Linked DNA regions of Homo sapiens: regions 1 and 2 are each linked to region 3. Evidence: promoter capture Hi-C in 16 types of primary human blood cells and fetal thymus (Javierre and others, 2016). All regions are on one chromosome and are shown on one strand. The core of a region is centred on a gene start or on the middle of the fragment in contact, and the rest is flanking DNA. Distances in the headings are between cores, read along the strand shown.

Region 1 (4,191 bases), core at 844-3,343, 560 kb after region 3:
TGGGGGTGCCCTGTTGCCCCTTTGCCCCAAGAGCTTCCTTTCTCAGCTTGATTGATGATGCGGGGGTTGCCGATTTTCTGTTTTTTAGATAGAAGTAGCAGAGTAGCGGCCTTGGGCTGCTGTTGCAAAGAAAACTCGAAATAAGTCGCAAGGACCGTACTTTCACTTGCGTTTGAGTGACATCCCTTGCACGAATCCATCCCAGCCAGGCTGACAACTAACGCACCCTGCCTGAACAGTAGCTAAAGCTTGGGGGCCCTTTACAATAATCCCGTGGTGGAAAGAAAGAGCTCTTTTTGGGAGATGTGCGTGTAGAGTTAAGCTCTTATTCCCCTCTCCCACCCCTTCTCTCACATCTTCTCCCCCCTCCGCCATTATAATTATTCTGGACAAAAATCGGCATGATGTATTATTTGTCAGCCTTGCTTTAGACTGCTAATTTGTTGACATCTGGTCCCTATAAATTGTTGCACACTTTTAAACCATCTCATTGTGTATTTGTATTAAATATGGGGAAATGAAACAAAGTAGCCATTCGGGAAACTGATTGCGAGTAAAATCATAACCCTTCATGAGCAATTGGGTTTTGTTGCCCTTCTGCAGATGAAGTCAATCTGACTACACCTCTTTTGAAACATGATTTTCGGAACTATTGTAATGAATGCGTGTTGTGGAATCTAAAATGCGAAAACTTTTTAAAAAATTAGATCTTACGACAAGCTTCAATTTTGTTAAATTAGCTGTAGTTTAGTTTGCATCAGAATTTCCCCCTTTAACGTTTTGTTCCCTTATTCATTTACTTTTGTAAGTAGTGTAGGTCTTTGCGCCAAAAAAGGGATCAGTAGTTGAATAATTTTTACAAATGTATAGCCCAAAGATTTTAAGAGATTTGGTGTATTTAGCTTTGTTTAGACCTTTCTGTTAAAAAAAAAGATTTGATATTTGCTTTTTTCTCAACTTAAATCCTAATTAACTAGCTTATTAGAATTGGTATGAACAAGTAAAAGGCTCATTATGAATTAATGTGTAATATTCCTTGTGATTTTGACATGAAGAAAGCATCTTTAGGCATAGCTCACTTCCTTTATTTAATAAGCATCAATCACAATTCAAGGTTGATTGAAATGTTAATTAATGGGGATGGATAATATGTAAACTTAATTGTAATTTCGTTTGCATTCATTGTCCCAGTATTTACGTTTTATACAACAGTCTAAAGCGTTATACACATCTTTAGAAAATTGGAGTAGCAAAAGTTGGCGGAACGTAAATGTTAGCAACACTTTGGGTTTATTCTTTTAAAGTATGATTTAAATGCTTTTAAGTTTTAGCATGGAGAAAGTAGCAAAGGAAATAGTTTGATTTCTCATAATTTTCTTCTTCTTTTTTTTTTTTTTTTTGAGTTGGAATTTGGCTCTTGTTGCCCAGGCTGGAGTGCTGTGGTTATTAACCTATAAACTTTTTTATTTATTTTGAGATGGAGTTTCGCTCTTTTTTTTTTTTTTTTTTTTTTTTTTTTGAGACGGGAGTCTTGCTCTGTCGCCCAGGCTGGAGTGCAGTGGCATGATCTCGGCCCACTGCAACCTCTGCCTCCCGGGTTCAAGCGATTCTCCTGCCTCAGCCTCCCAAGTAGCTGGGATTACAGGCGCCCACCACCATGCCTGGCTAATTTTTTGTATTTTTATTAAAGACGGGTTTCACCATGTTGATCAGGCTGGTCTCAAACTCCTGAGCTCAGGTGATCCACCCGCCTCGGCCTCTCAAAGTGCTGGGATTATAGGCGTGAGCCACTACTGCGCCTGGCCGATTTCTCATAATTTTCATTTTAAAAGAATAGTAATGCAAACAAGTAATGGAATCATGTATGACAGGATTTAGTTACTGGTTCCTGCTCCAGTCATTCTGAGCGTTTTAATAAATTTGTTTTACTTGGTTGCCTACTGTCCTAAGAGTCTTGCAGCCTTAATGGCCATTCATTCATTCAGCAAATACTGATTGTTTATCAGATATTAAGCGTCATGGTATGTATATTACTTGTTTATGTTGGGAATAACAACTGCAAATTGAAGGTCTTATTTTAAAATTGACTTGTTAAAGTTAAATTTGTCACTGAGAATAATGGGAGGTGGAAAAAGTTACAGTTTAAAAATGTTTACAGGCCAGCGCGGTGGCTCGTGCCTGTAATCCCAGCACTTTGGGAGGCGCAGGTGGGTGGATCACTTGAGGTCAGGGGTTCGAGATCAGCCTGACCAATATAGTGAGACCCTGTCTCTACTAAAAATACAAAAATTAGCCGAGTGTGGTGAAGCTCGCCTGTAGTCCCAGGTACTTGGGAGGCTGAGGCAGGAGAATCGCTTGAACCCGGGAGGCGGAGGTTGCAGTGAGCCGAGATCATGCCACTGCACTCCAGCCTGGGCGACAGAGCAAGACTCCCGTCTCAAAAAAAAAAAAAAAAAAAAGAGCGAAACTCCATCTCAAAATAAATAAAAAAGTTTATAGGTTAATAACCTTATTTCCAAATATTAGAAAGTGTTGGTTGATCCCTGTTACCTGTATTGAAGTGTAATAGTGAAGAATTTGGAAACATTTTGAGACCGGTAACTCAGCATTTTAGCAAAGACAAATAAATGAACTTTAACAGTTGAAGTGTAGGTCCAAGTGAATATCCTTGTCACTGAGGGGACCGGTTAAATTATTTGGGGTAATTAATTTGAAGCTATTAGTTTTGCCTTACACCGAAAAAATATTTGTGATTATTGATGTCATTTATAGTGAAATCTCCACAATAATGCTTCCTACACCCAATTTGAATGTCATGCAGTTGGCTTCTGTCCTTGTCTCTGCATAGACTCACCCCAGTCTCTTTTTTAGCTTGTAATAGCAGATCCTCCACATTTTACATGATGGAAAGTCTTGGATTCCCCCTCTAGCATATGGCTGAATGTTACTGTATTGCTGAATATCTGTTTCTAGCCAACAGCTGGATTAGTGTTAATTCTTAAAAGAGATACATTTTTATTAGAATCTCAAGTAATGAGCAGCTGAAGTAAATACAATTGTTTGAAATGTTGACAGGGCATTTGGAGATAACAGTTTTCCTTTGCATAGTGACAGCAAGCTATTTAAACATGTCCTAAGAGTAGATGTTTTAAGTTTGTGAGCCAGTGGTCACCTTAGTGGTTTGTACAGATGGCCTGAGAAGTTTGTGAGCCAGTGGTCGCCTTAGTGGTTTGTACAGATGGCCTGAGCAGCCGCGCCGTACCAGGACCTCACCATCATGCTCTTGAGCCCATCTCATTGAGAGCACAGCGCACTGAAATTCCAGTGAATACTAAGCGGGCCTACCACATTCTAAATTCCTCACTAAAGCAAAAGTTAGGACATGTATTCCAGTGTTCTGTTACGTGGAACTGATAGGATTTAAGCAGTGATTCACATAGGAAAACTTAAAGGAGAAAAGGATTACGAAGCTTAATGATTGCTGTTTAATGCCAAGCCTAAGCGGCACGTTGCACTGTGCTGTGCTCAGAATATAACATTCAAGTAATTGAGAAAAGTGGTATCATCTCCAATTGAATTAGTTACATCAGGGTTTTTGTTTCGGTTTTTTGTTTGTTTGTTTGTTTTTAAAGATATAATTTCAGACATGTAGGTACTTCCTGTTAATGGTTCCTGGTATTCAGGTGGCACATTAAACGTGGTTGCTGAGGACACTTATTACTGGTACTATACCAAAATATGAAACGTAGTGGGAAGAGCTTGCTTTTGAATTTGTAATTAGGCTGTTACTTTTCTATTTACTGCCACACATGCAAGAATCACCATCGCACAAAACAGATAAATCTGTTTGCAATGGAATTTGCTGGCCTTGGGCCATTGGATTACTGTCATTTGTCACTTTAGTGCCACTTCAGCAGTGTAGATGTTCATTTCCAGAGACTTGTATGTGCTTGGACTGCAGTTTTCCTGTTTATTGAAGTGTTCTCCCAAAAGGTCTTTCTTTGACCATTTCTGTCAATACAGGCTGGATGAAGAATTAGTGTAGGAAAATAAAGGTAGCCCTTGGGGTATGTGTATAGTATTTGTTTCAAGGATCAGAAAATGTAGAATTTATCATAAACCTCGATGTAGAATCTTCAGATCCTAGATTTTTTCTGAACTGGCTATTTTCTGGCTATTTGAAAGCTCCTG
Region 2 (4,641 bases), core at 1,943-4,442, 610 kb after region 3:
TGCAACCTTCTCCTCCTGGGTTCAGGCAATTCTCCTGCCTCAGCCTCCCTAGTAGCTGGGACTACAGGTGCCTGGCACCACGCCAGGCTAATTTTTGTATTTTTAGTAGAGACCGAGTTTCACCATGTTGGCCAGGCTGGTCTTGAGCTCCTGACCTCAAGTGATCCTCCTGCCTCAGCCTCTCAAAGTGCTGAGATTACAGGCGTGAGCCACCGCGCCCAGCTGAGAATATTATAGTTTCGTTTCTAAAATTGCTCCACAAAGGAAAACCTCCCATCTTAGGGAGATTTTCTCTATCTTTATTTAAAATAACCAAGAAAAGCTTCATTTAAAATGTTTTAGAACATTCTACTTAGTCATATGACTTTAAATATAGTTTGATAAATAGTTTGTTATGTTCTGTATATGTTAAAGTCTAATTGAAGTAGCTTTGTCAAACACTGAAAGTAAGGGCCTCTTAATGACTGGTAGTAGAGGAAAGCCTTGCCACACACAGTCCACGTAATTATTTTTGTGTGGACATATTGTAAACCCCTACCAAACAGATTATTTTTTTAATCCTATTTGGTTAGGTCAGTTATGAAGATGTTTTAATTTTCTGAGCAAAAGTGTAGTTTCTTTAAAAATATATAATTCTTTTCAGCCTGTTTGTTGAGGCTTCGATAGACAGAACGTAGTTGTTGACAGTTTCAGGAGTCTCGTGAGATAGTAGAGCAATAGAGTCACATTGAATAACCCTTGGGATCATATAGGGCTTAGGGAGAATGGCATTGTTTGAAATTTTTTTTGTTGTTTTATTCTCCTACTTAGGGATTTACTTTATAAAAGTGGTAAAACATACTCAGTTTGTTACAAGTCAGATCCACTACCACAAATTCCCTTTAGTGGGCACACTTTTAAGTGTAGGCCCACTTATTTTAAGCAGCGTTTAACTGAGTGAAAGTCTAGTTTCATTAAAAGATCTGTTGATGTGGGTTATAATAGAGTTTGACTTGCATTAGTATCTAACTGTTTCTACTGAGACAGTGGTATTTGTGTTATTAACTTTTGGGAAAGAGGGAGTAGGGAATGATTTAGACATTAAATGTATTCCTTTCTGCCAGGCATGATAGTGTGGAGATTGAGGCTTGAGGCTCGATAACTTGAGCCCGGGAGTTCGAGGCCAGCCTGGGCAACATACTGAGACCCCATCTTTAAAAAAAAAAAAAATTATACACACACAAAATGCTTGGAATAATTTGTGTATTTTTTATCTCAAGTTTGTTTCAAATACTCACATTTCTGGACTATTTCCCCTATTGTTAAGTCTGCTTAATAAATGCCAGCTAGTTTTTATGCCATCAGAAGTGAAATTAAGAAGGCAGATGGACTAAAAGAATCACGTATAAGGGATTTTGAAGTGAAATACATTAAACTCTTGATTACTCTTAAACTATCCACTTTAACGGGTTCTACTTGGACCTTCTTGGTGGCAAGGCCATCTCCTCGGTGTAGGTTATGTGTCAACATTTTGTTCCATTGGCTGTTTTTCAAGTGTGAACTGTTATTTGAAAGGAGAAGGACACGCCAGGGGAGAGCGTGTGAACTGAATACTCAGTGATTTCCTTTAGCCCCAAGGGAAGGATGTATCTAAACACAAAAGCCCTGTCTTGCCGAGGGTTGGAGAGGGATCTGTGTTTCAGTGACTGGTCTGAGAGGAGATGGTTGCCATTTATCAGTAGGAGTCAACAAAAGGAAACTTAATACAGCCCGGCACAGTGGCTCACGCCTGTAATCCCAGCACTTTCGGAGGTTGAGGTGGGTGGATCCCTTGAGGCCAGGAGTTCAAGACCAGCCTGGCCAACATAGGGAAATCCCATCTTTACTAAAAATAAAAAAATTAGATGGACGTGGTGGCTCATGGCTGTAATCCTAGCTACTGAGGAGGCTGTGTCAGGAGAATAGCTTGAACCGGGGAGGTGGAGGTTCAGTGAGCCCAGATCGTGCCACTGCACTCCAGCCTGGGCCACAGAGTGAGACTGTCTCAAAAAAAAAAAAAAAAACCCAAAACTTAATAGCTTGTGTTTGAAAGTAGTTGCAAAACGCGACACCCTTGTTAAGAGTGAGTATGGCAGACACGTGGGGAGTGCCTTTGCTGCTGCTTCCCTCATTAGCACAGATACTTTGGAGTTGACGAACATGTGACGTTTGAAATTGAACGTATGCTTTCATTGAACATTGTACTTTTCCTGGGTCTTTACTAAGGAACATTCCTCATATACTAGACGAAATTGTATCAGATGCTTTCACATCACAAATAGAGCCATTTTGTATTTGATGTTTTGCTTTCAAAATTATGCAACAGTATATTTTGTTTTAACAGAATATAAATAATGCTGGGTAAGAAGAGTGGCCAACTGCCCGATAAGTTAAAATTCCAGTGAGAGAGAACTAGGAAAACTGAGCTCTTGAACAGCTCTGAAAACATTGCGTTGAGGTATCTAGCAATGTCATTTATTATGAATTGTTAGTCAAAACCTGTTTATATGATTTTTCACAGTGGTTTTATACCTAAAAGGCATTGGATCAAGAAACAAAGTTATTACAATTTGGGTCTTCTCTAATGAATTACCCTGTCCGTGTTTATTTAAGTGTAAATGAACATACAGTTATGTGCTGCTTTAATGATGTTTCAGTCAACAACAGACCGCATGTACGACAGTGGTCCCATAAGATTATAATGGAGCTAAACAATTTCTAGTGACCAGTGAGTTGTGTTACAGTTGCCTACGGTATTCAGTACACAACATGCTGTACGGGTTTGTAGCTTAGGAGCAATAGGCTCTAGCATATGGCCCAGGTGTGTAGTTGGCTATACCATCTAGGCATGTGATCCCACAATGACAAAATTGCCTAATGCCACATTTCTCAGAACATATCCCCATCATTAAGCATGGCTGTGTATCCTAAAACTGATCTTTATTTTGGCAGTTTATAAATCATGCATATATTTCCCCCCGCTCCTTGGGGGAAATGGTTTCTCAGATATTTTGCACTTCCTCTTCAAACTCTGAAGTACACAGGCAGTGGTCATGCGGCGTGATCTAAGTTAAAAAGGCGTGGCACCTGTTTACCGGGATCCACCCTTGTGGACTGAGAGTTTAGTCCACATCTGATTCGATGTTTGTAGCCTCACATTTATTATACATCTTTCCACTTCAGAAACATAAGTTGATCTGTAGTCAATGGGTAGTGGTACATTTTGGTCACTTTGCTGTCCTCCACCTGGTTAGATAACCAAGATAGTGTGTGTTCTTCCAAATTGATGGTAATGAGGAAAAGAAAAGCACTTGGAGAATGTTCTGGACAGTTAGAATGATGACAGAAAAGCAGGTCAACAACACCAGAATGTCGATTACGGGCCAGTTATTGAGCCCTAAGAATCAGAGTTCTGTACCTTGCATTTTCAGGGATTTTCAATGTTAATATGACCCCTAAGTCCTAATTTTAGGAAAACAGAATTTGATGTGTAAAATATGTGTAAGAATAATCATAGCTTATGATGACATAAAAGTTTACGATGCTGGTATTGCCTTTGAGTTGATAAACAATTTCAGTGGGCTGATTTGTGGCAGCCCTTGTGAGCTACCATCTAGCATGTATGTCTTAAAATTTGAAAAAAGGCTATTAAGCAACTCCATTTTTCTGTATGTCAGCAGATTTCATAAGAGTGAAATTTCAGTTCAGCCTTTTCATGTGAGTTATTACAAAAGTGAACTACAGGTTTCAATTTTGTGTCTTTTATGAGTCATTCTGGCATTTTGTGCCTTTTCTCACACATTGTTCTAGGCAGCCCCACCAACTCCTGTGACAAAGATGGACTGGGGGAGGCCATCTTCCTAAAGTTGCTGTCTGAACAGTTAAGTAGTAAATTATACCAACCATGATGAATTGAAAAGAAGGCTTCTGGGGAAAGTTTGTTATTAGAGCCAACTTCTATTATATGCCCTTAAAGAAGGTAAAATAGATACACCAATGGCAATGACTTTGGAATGCAGGTCAAGTTTCAACCTAGAAGTTGCCTGCCCTCTATCCTTGGTGGCCCGCCTTCCTCATTTTTATTCTTTTAGCCTCCATAATTGGAATGCGTATTGGACTTTAGGCTAGGAATAACATTGTAAATGAAAATGTTGATGTTGAAAGAGGAATTTAAATAGAGCGAAGAGTGATATTAGAAATTTGGAAGTGGTATTAGTTCTGGCTTGTCCGTAAGACCTGACTTTTGCATGATAACAATAGGATTCATTCACTTGAACATAATTCGGTCTGGTCTTAGGAGGAATTAGAACTGCTTTTGCACCCCTGTTTTTTTCACTGCGAGGAAGAAGAGGAGCTCACGAACTTCATAAAGCGTTAGTGTCTCCTCCAGTTGATGGTTATCGAAATGAGTCAGGATGGAAGGCTTAGTGTACGTGTGAGATGTTACAAAAGTGGACCTTAAATGTTTCTTGAGTGTTTGGATCTTAAGAGAAAATCTTTGACAATAAGTATTTAATCTTCATTTCTTACAATCATTCCTCTTAAAATGGAGCTTTATTTTTTAAAAACGTATTTTTTTTTTCTTAAGAAACAGGGTCTTGCTCATTCATTCAGGCTGGAGTG
Region 3 (4,309 bases), core at 1,635-4,134:
GAAATCCCTCCTTAGCCTCAGGTCATGAAGAAATTTTTTCGAATTATTTTCTAGAAATTTTACATTTTTGCTTTTTCAGTTTAAGTCTTTAATCCTCCTGGCGTTTTGTGATGGTGTGAGGCTGGGATCTCACACATCTTTTTTTTTTTTTTTTTTTTTTTGAGACAGAGTCTCACTCTGTCACCCAGGCTGGAGTGCAATGGCGCGATCTTAGCTCACTGCAACCTCCTCCTTCCAAGTTCAAGCAATTCTTCTGCCTCAGCCTCCCAAGTAACTGGGACTACAGGCGTGTGCCACCATGCCTGGCTAATTTTTGTATTTTTTTCTTTTTTAGTAGAGACGGGGGTTTCACCATATTGGCCAGGCTGGTCTTGAACTCCTGACCTTGTGATCCGCCCACTTTGGCCTCCCAAAGCACTGGGATGTGACCGGCCGGATCTCACACATCTTTAATATTCCTCCTCAGCACCTGACATGCTGCTGTAGACAACTTTATTTAATAAACAGAATCAAATACTGCTTTGTGTTCAAAGCTCAAATTTCACTCTTGAGAAAAAAACTTAAGCTTTTCATACTCTGCGTCAGCACTATGACAAAGTTAGCATTGGTGTATCAAGACTTTTTGGGATGTCTTTACCTTCACTGCCAATTTTTGGTATAGGACTAAACGCACAATGAAGCTGAGCCTAAAGAGCAGCAACATGGAATTAGAAACCTGGATTCTCATCCAAGATCCAACACTCTTCACCATCATGTCTGTATTTATGCAGTAAGAATTAAAATATTCAGAGTACCCCACTCCTAGGCAGATACCCAAGATAATTAGAAACTTTTGCTCACATAAAAACTCCTGCTTGCATGTTCACAGTGGCCTACTCACAACTGCCAGAAGGCAGAAACAAACAAAATGTCCATCAACAAATGAATGAATAAGCAAAATGTGGTGTTATCCACACAAAGGAGTATTATTCAGCCATAAAAAAGCATGAAGTACTGATACATACTACAACATGGATAAACTTTGAAAACATTATGCTAAAGGACAGAAACCAAATACAAAAGGCCGTATGTTGTATGTTTCCACTTGTATGAAATGTCCAGCATAAGCAAATCCATAGAGACAGAAGATAACTTAGGGCTGCTGAGGGACAGGGGGAGAAAAGAGGTATGACTGTTAATGGGGTTGGGGTTTCTTTTGTAGGTGATTAAATGTTCTGGAATTAGTTACTGGTGATGGTTGCATAGCATTGTGACTATAGCAAGAACTACTGAGTTATACACTGTAAAATGGCTAAAATGATAAATTTTATGTCATGCGTAAGTCATTTCGATTTTTGAAAACCTACTTTAAAAAAAAGTAGCACCAATATGTTCAACTCTGTTGCCCTAGAATATTCCAGCAGTGATTAAAACCACAAACTTGGCCGGGTACAGTGGCTCATGTCTGTAACCCCAGAACTTTGGGAGGCCAAGGCGGGCAGATCACTTGAGGCCAGGAGTTCAAGGCTACCCTGACCAACACAGCGAAACCCCGTCTCTACTAAAAAAAAAAAAAAAAAAATTAGCTGGGTGTGGTAGAACGTGCCTGTAATCCCAGCTACTCGGAAGGCTGAGGCAGGAGAATCACTTGGGCCCGGGGTGCGGGATGGCGGGCAGAGGTAGCAGGAGCTGAGATCGCAGGCACCATTGCACTACAGCCCGGGCGACAGAGCGAGATTGTCTGAATCAATCAATCAATCAACACCCTCCCCCTCCCCCTCCCTCTCCCTCTCCCTCCCTCCCTCTCTCTCTCTCTCTCTCTCCTGTGGCGGTCAGAGTAAAATTGAGAGCTCACTTTATGCAAAAGACTCTGCTAAGTGCTTTATTCCTATTGTCTCACTTTATTCTCTCATTAATCTTATAAAGCGCAGTCAGACTCTCCCGTTTATAGATGGGGAAATTGAGTCTTATAGATGTAAAGTCGCACACCCAAGACCCCACAACTCAGAAAGGGGCTACCTGCAATTCAGATGGAGGTATAGCAAGGCGCAGAGTCCTGTCCAGGGAGCCCACTGTGAGACCCCCCGACTGCCTCGCAGTCACCTGTACACATCATGTTGGGATCGCCGAGGGGCGCTGCAGCGATCCGGTTTCTGGGGCTGCGTCTGGGTGGCACGTTCAGAACGGGGACCTGCCTGGTTCTTCTTCCCAGCCCTTCCCCTCCAGCACCCGGCAAGGCCCAGTCAACACGAGCAAACTCGGAAATCCTGGCTGAACCCACGACCGCTGCATATTTCCATTTTAGAAAAACACGGCAACAACAACTCAAACCAAATCGTTCAGAAATGAGAATAAAGAAGCACCGACAAAGGAGGCGATTGCTGGGGCCGCTCGGGGGAGGAGCCGGGTGAGAGGCTGCAGGGAGGGCAGGGCATGCGCCGGCGACAACGGGGTTCGCGGTTTGGGGGGCAAGGCCCGGGGGAAGAGAGAGAACAGGGGTGCAGCGCCGCGGCGGGGGGCGTGAGGATGGAGCCGGGGGAAGGGGGGCTCTGAGATGTGAAGGGGCGGGGCTGGGGCTTTTTGGTCTGAAGGAAGGAGTCTCACGGGACGGAGGGACGAAGATTTCCTGGGGTCAGGGGCGCCAAGGGGCTTCGGGGCCGGATGCAGCGGAGGGGGCCCGGGGCCTGGGGGGCGTGGTGAGAGCTCAGAGGGGTCTCGCCAAGCAGCCGGCTGGCGCTGAGGGGACCGAGGAGGGGTCTGGGGCGAAAGGACCGCGAGAGGGCGCCCAGGGCGCGGGGGGCGCGGTACCTGCAGGCCGGCAAAGTCTTCCAAACCGGTCCCGCCAGACCCGCGCGGCCGCCGCCCCCGTCTCGGCCGCCGGAGCTGCTGCCGCGCCGCGCCCTCACGTGACCCGCGTACGCGCCGGGGGCGGAGCCGTCTCAGACCCGCCCCCACCCCCCGGCGTCCCCAGCGCGCCGGTCCGTCCCGAGTGCGCGTGCGCAGCGGTTGCCTGGGCGACCGGGGAAGCGTTGGGCTGTAAAGACTAGGGCGCCAGCGGCTGGCGAAGAAGGAAAGAGGGTACTCTCTGGCTGGGCTGGGGCCGTAGCGACGTCCGCCGCGAACCTGGGCCCCCCAAAGCTGCGGGGCGTTCGGTGTCGCCGAAGTAAACATGCACCCTGAGCCCTCGGAGCCTGCGACAGGTGGTGCAGCAGAGCTGGATTGCGCGCAGGAGCCCGGCGTGGAGGAGTCTGCGGGTGACCACGGGAGCGCAGGCCGAGGGGGCTGCAAGGAAGGTGCCGACTGCCCCCCAGGGAGGGCGGTGGGCGAGGGGCAGACACGGCTAGGCGCTCCAGCCCCCTTCCCACACCACATACCCGATCTTCACAGCCAAATAATAACAATAATAATAATGGTAGCAAGCAACGCTCTGCAGTAGGGGCTTCTCTCGCCATTTCGTACTGAGGAGGAAACATACTTAAGAGGTTACAAAACTTGCACCAAACAGATAACCCTCGGCTAGTCAGTGACAGAAGAGACTTGGCCGGGTGCGGTGGCTCAACGCCTGTAATTCCAGCACTTTGGGAGGCCGAGGCGGGCGGATCATCAGGTCAGTCAGGAGTTCGAGACCAGCCTGGCCAACATAGTGAAACCCTGTCTCTACTAAAAATACAAAAAATGAGCTGGGCGTGGTGGCGGGCGCCTGTAGTCTCAGCTACTTGGGAGGCTGAGGCAGGAGAATCGCTTGAACCCGGGAGGCGGAGGTTGCAGTGAGCCAAGATCTCGCCATTGCATTCCAGCCCGGACGACAGTGGGAGACTCCGTCTCAAACAAACAAACAAACAAACAAGCAAACAAAACCCACCAGACTCAGGCCCAGACAGTCTGGGTCTCCAGAGCCCCAGCCCTAACCCACCACGCTATTCTCCCTGGTCCCAACTTTGATGCTTTAAATGTGTCCCTTTATTGCTATCACTATGTAAGATCAAAGGCTTTCTCTCCCTCCAGACTGCATGTTGTGTCAGGGCAAGACATCTTGATTGAATTTGGAGTCTAGTCCAGTGCCTGACCTAGGGTAGAGAGTCCGAATGAAGACTTGGTTCTGGGGTCAGTGTGTGATCCCCTCACCAAAGTTTGCCAGAATGGACTTGAAAGATAACCTTCATGGCCAGGCACGGTGGCTCACGCCTGTAATCCCAGCAATTTGGGAGGCAGAGGCAGGTGGGTCACCTGAAGTCAGGAGTTCGAGACCAGTCTGGCCAACATATTGAAACCCTGTCTTTGCTAAAAACACAAAAATTAGCAGGGCGTGGTGACGTGCTCCTGTAATTCC

The links. The method cuts DNA at HindIII sites, captures the fragments that hold promoters and counts their contacts. A CHiCAGO score of 5 or more calls a contact.
Region 1: a contact is called between a fragment that was not itself captured here and the fragment with the promoter of HSDL1 in region 3, in 1 of 17 cell types (fetal thymus). The highest score is 5.0, in fetal thymus.
Region 2: a fragment that was not itself captured here is called in contact with the fragment with the promoter of HSDL1 in region 3 in 2 of 17 cell types (total B cells and naive B cells); the score reaches 6.1 in total B cells.

The regions. Positions count from the first base shown.
Region 1 is chr16:84,700,555-84,704,745 of GRCh38, forward strand. The region is part of intron 1 of USP10 (ubiquitin specific peptidase 10); the gene reads left to right. Among named protein-coding and RNA genes, the nearest start is that of USP10, 2.6 kb to the left of the region's middle. RefSeq lists a silencer at 1-17. The HindIII fragment of the contact is 2,750 bases long and covers 719-3,468 here.
Region 2 is chr16:84,748,380-84,753,020 of GRCh38, forward strand. All of the region lies in intron 4 of USP10 (ubiquitin specific peptidase 10), which reads left to right. Among named protein-coding and RNA genes, the nearest start is that of USP10, 51 kb to the left of the region's middle. RefSeq lists an enhancer at 3,833-3,912. The HindIII fragment of the contact is 5,744 bases long and covers 321-4,641 here.
Region 3 is chr16:84,142,293-84,146,601 of GRCh38, forward strand. HSDL1 (hydroxysteroid dehydrogenase like 1) reads right to left here and starts at 2,885. Exons shown (of 6, transcript NM_031463.5): 1 at 2,788-2,885. DNAAF1 (dynein axonemal assembly factor 1) reads left to right here and starts at 3,016. Exons shown (of 12, transcript NM_178452.6): 1 at 3,016-3,272. The coding sequence starts at 3,149. RefSeq lists silencers at 2,310-2,359, 2,410-2,459, 2,620-3,069. The HindIII fragment of the contact is 7,366 bases long and covers 564-4,309 here.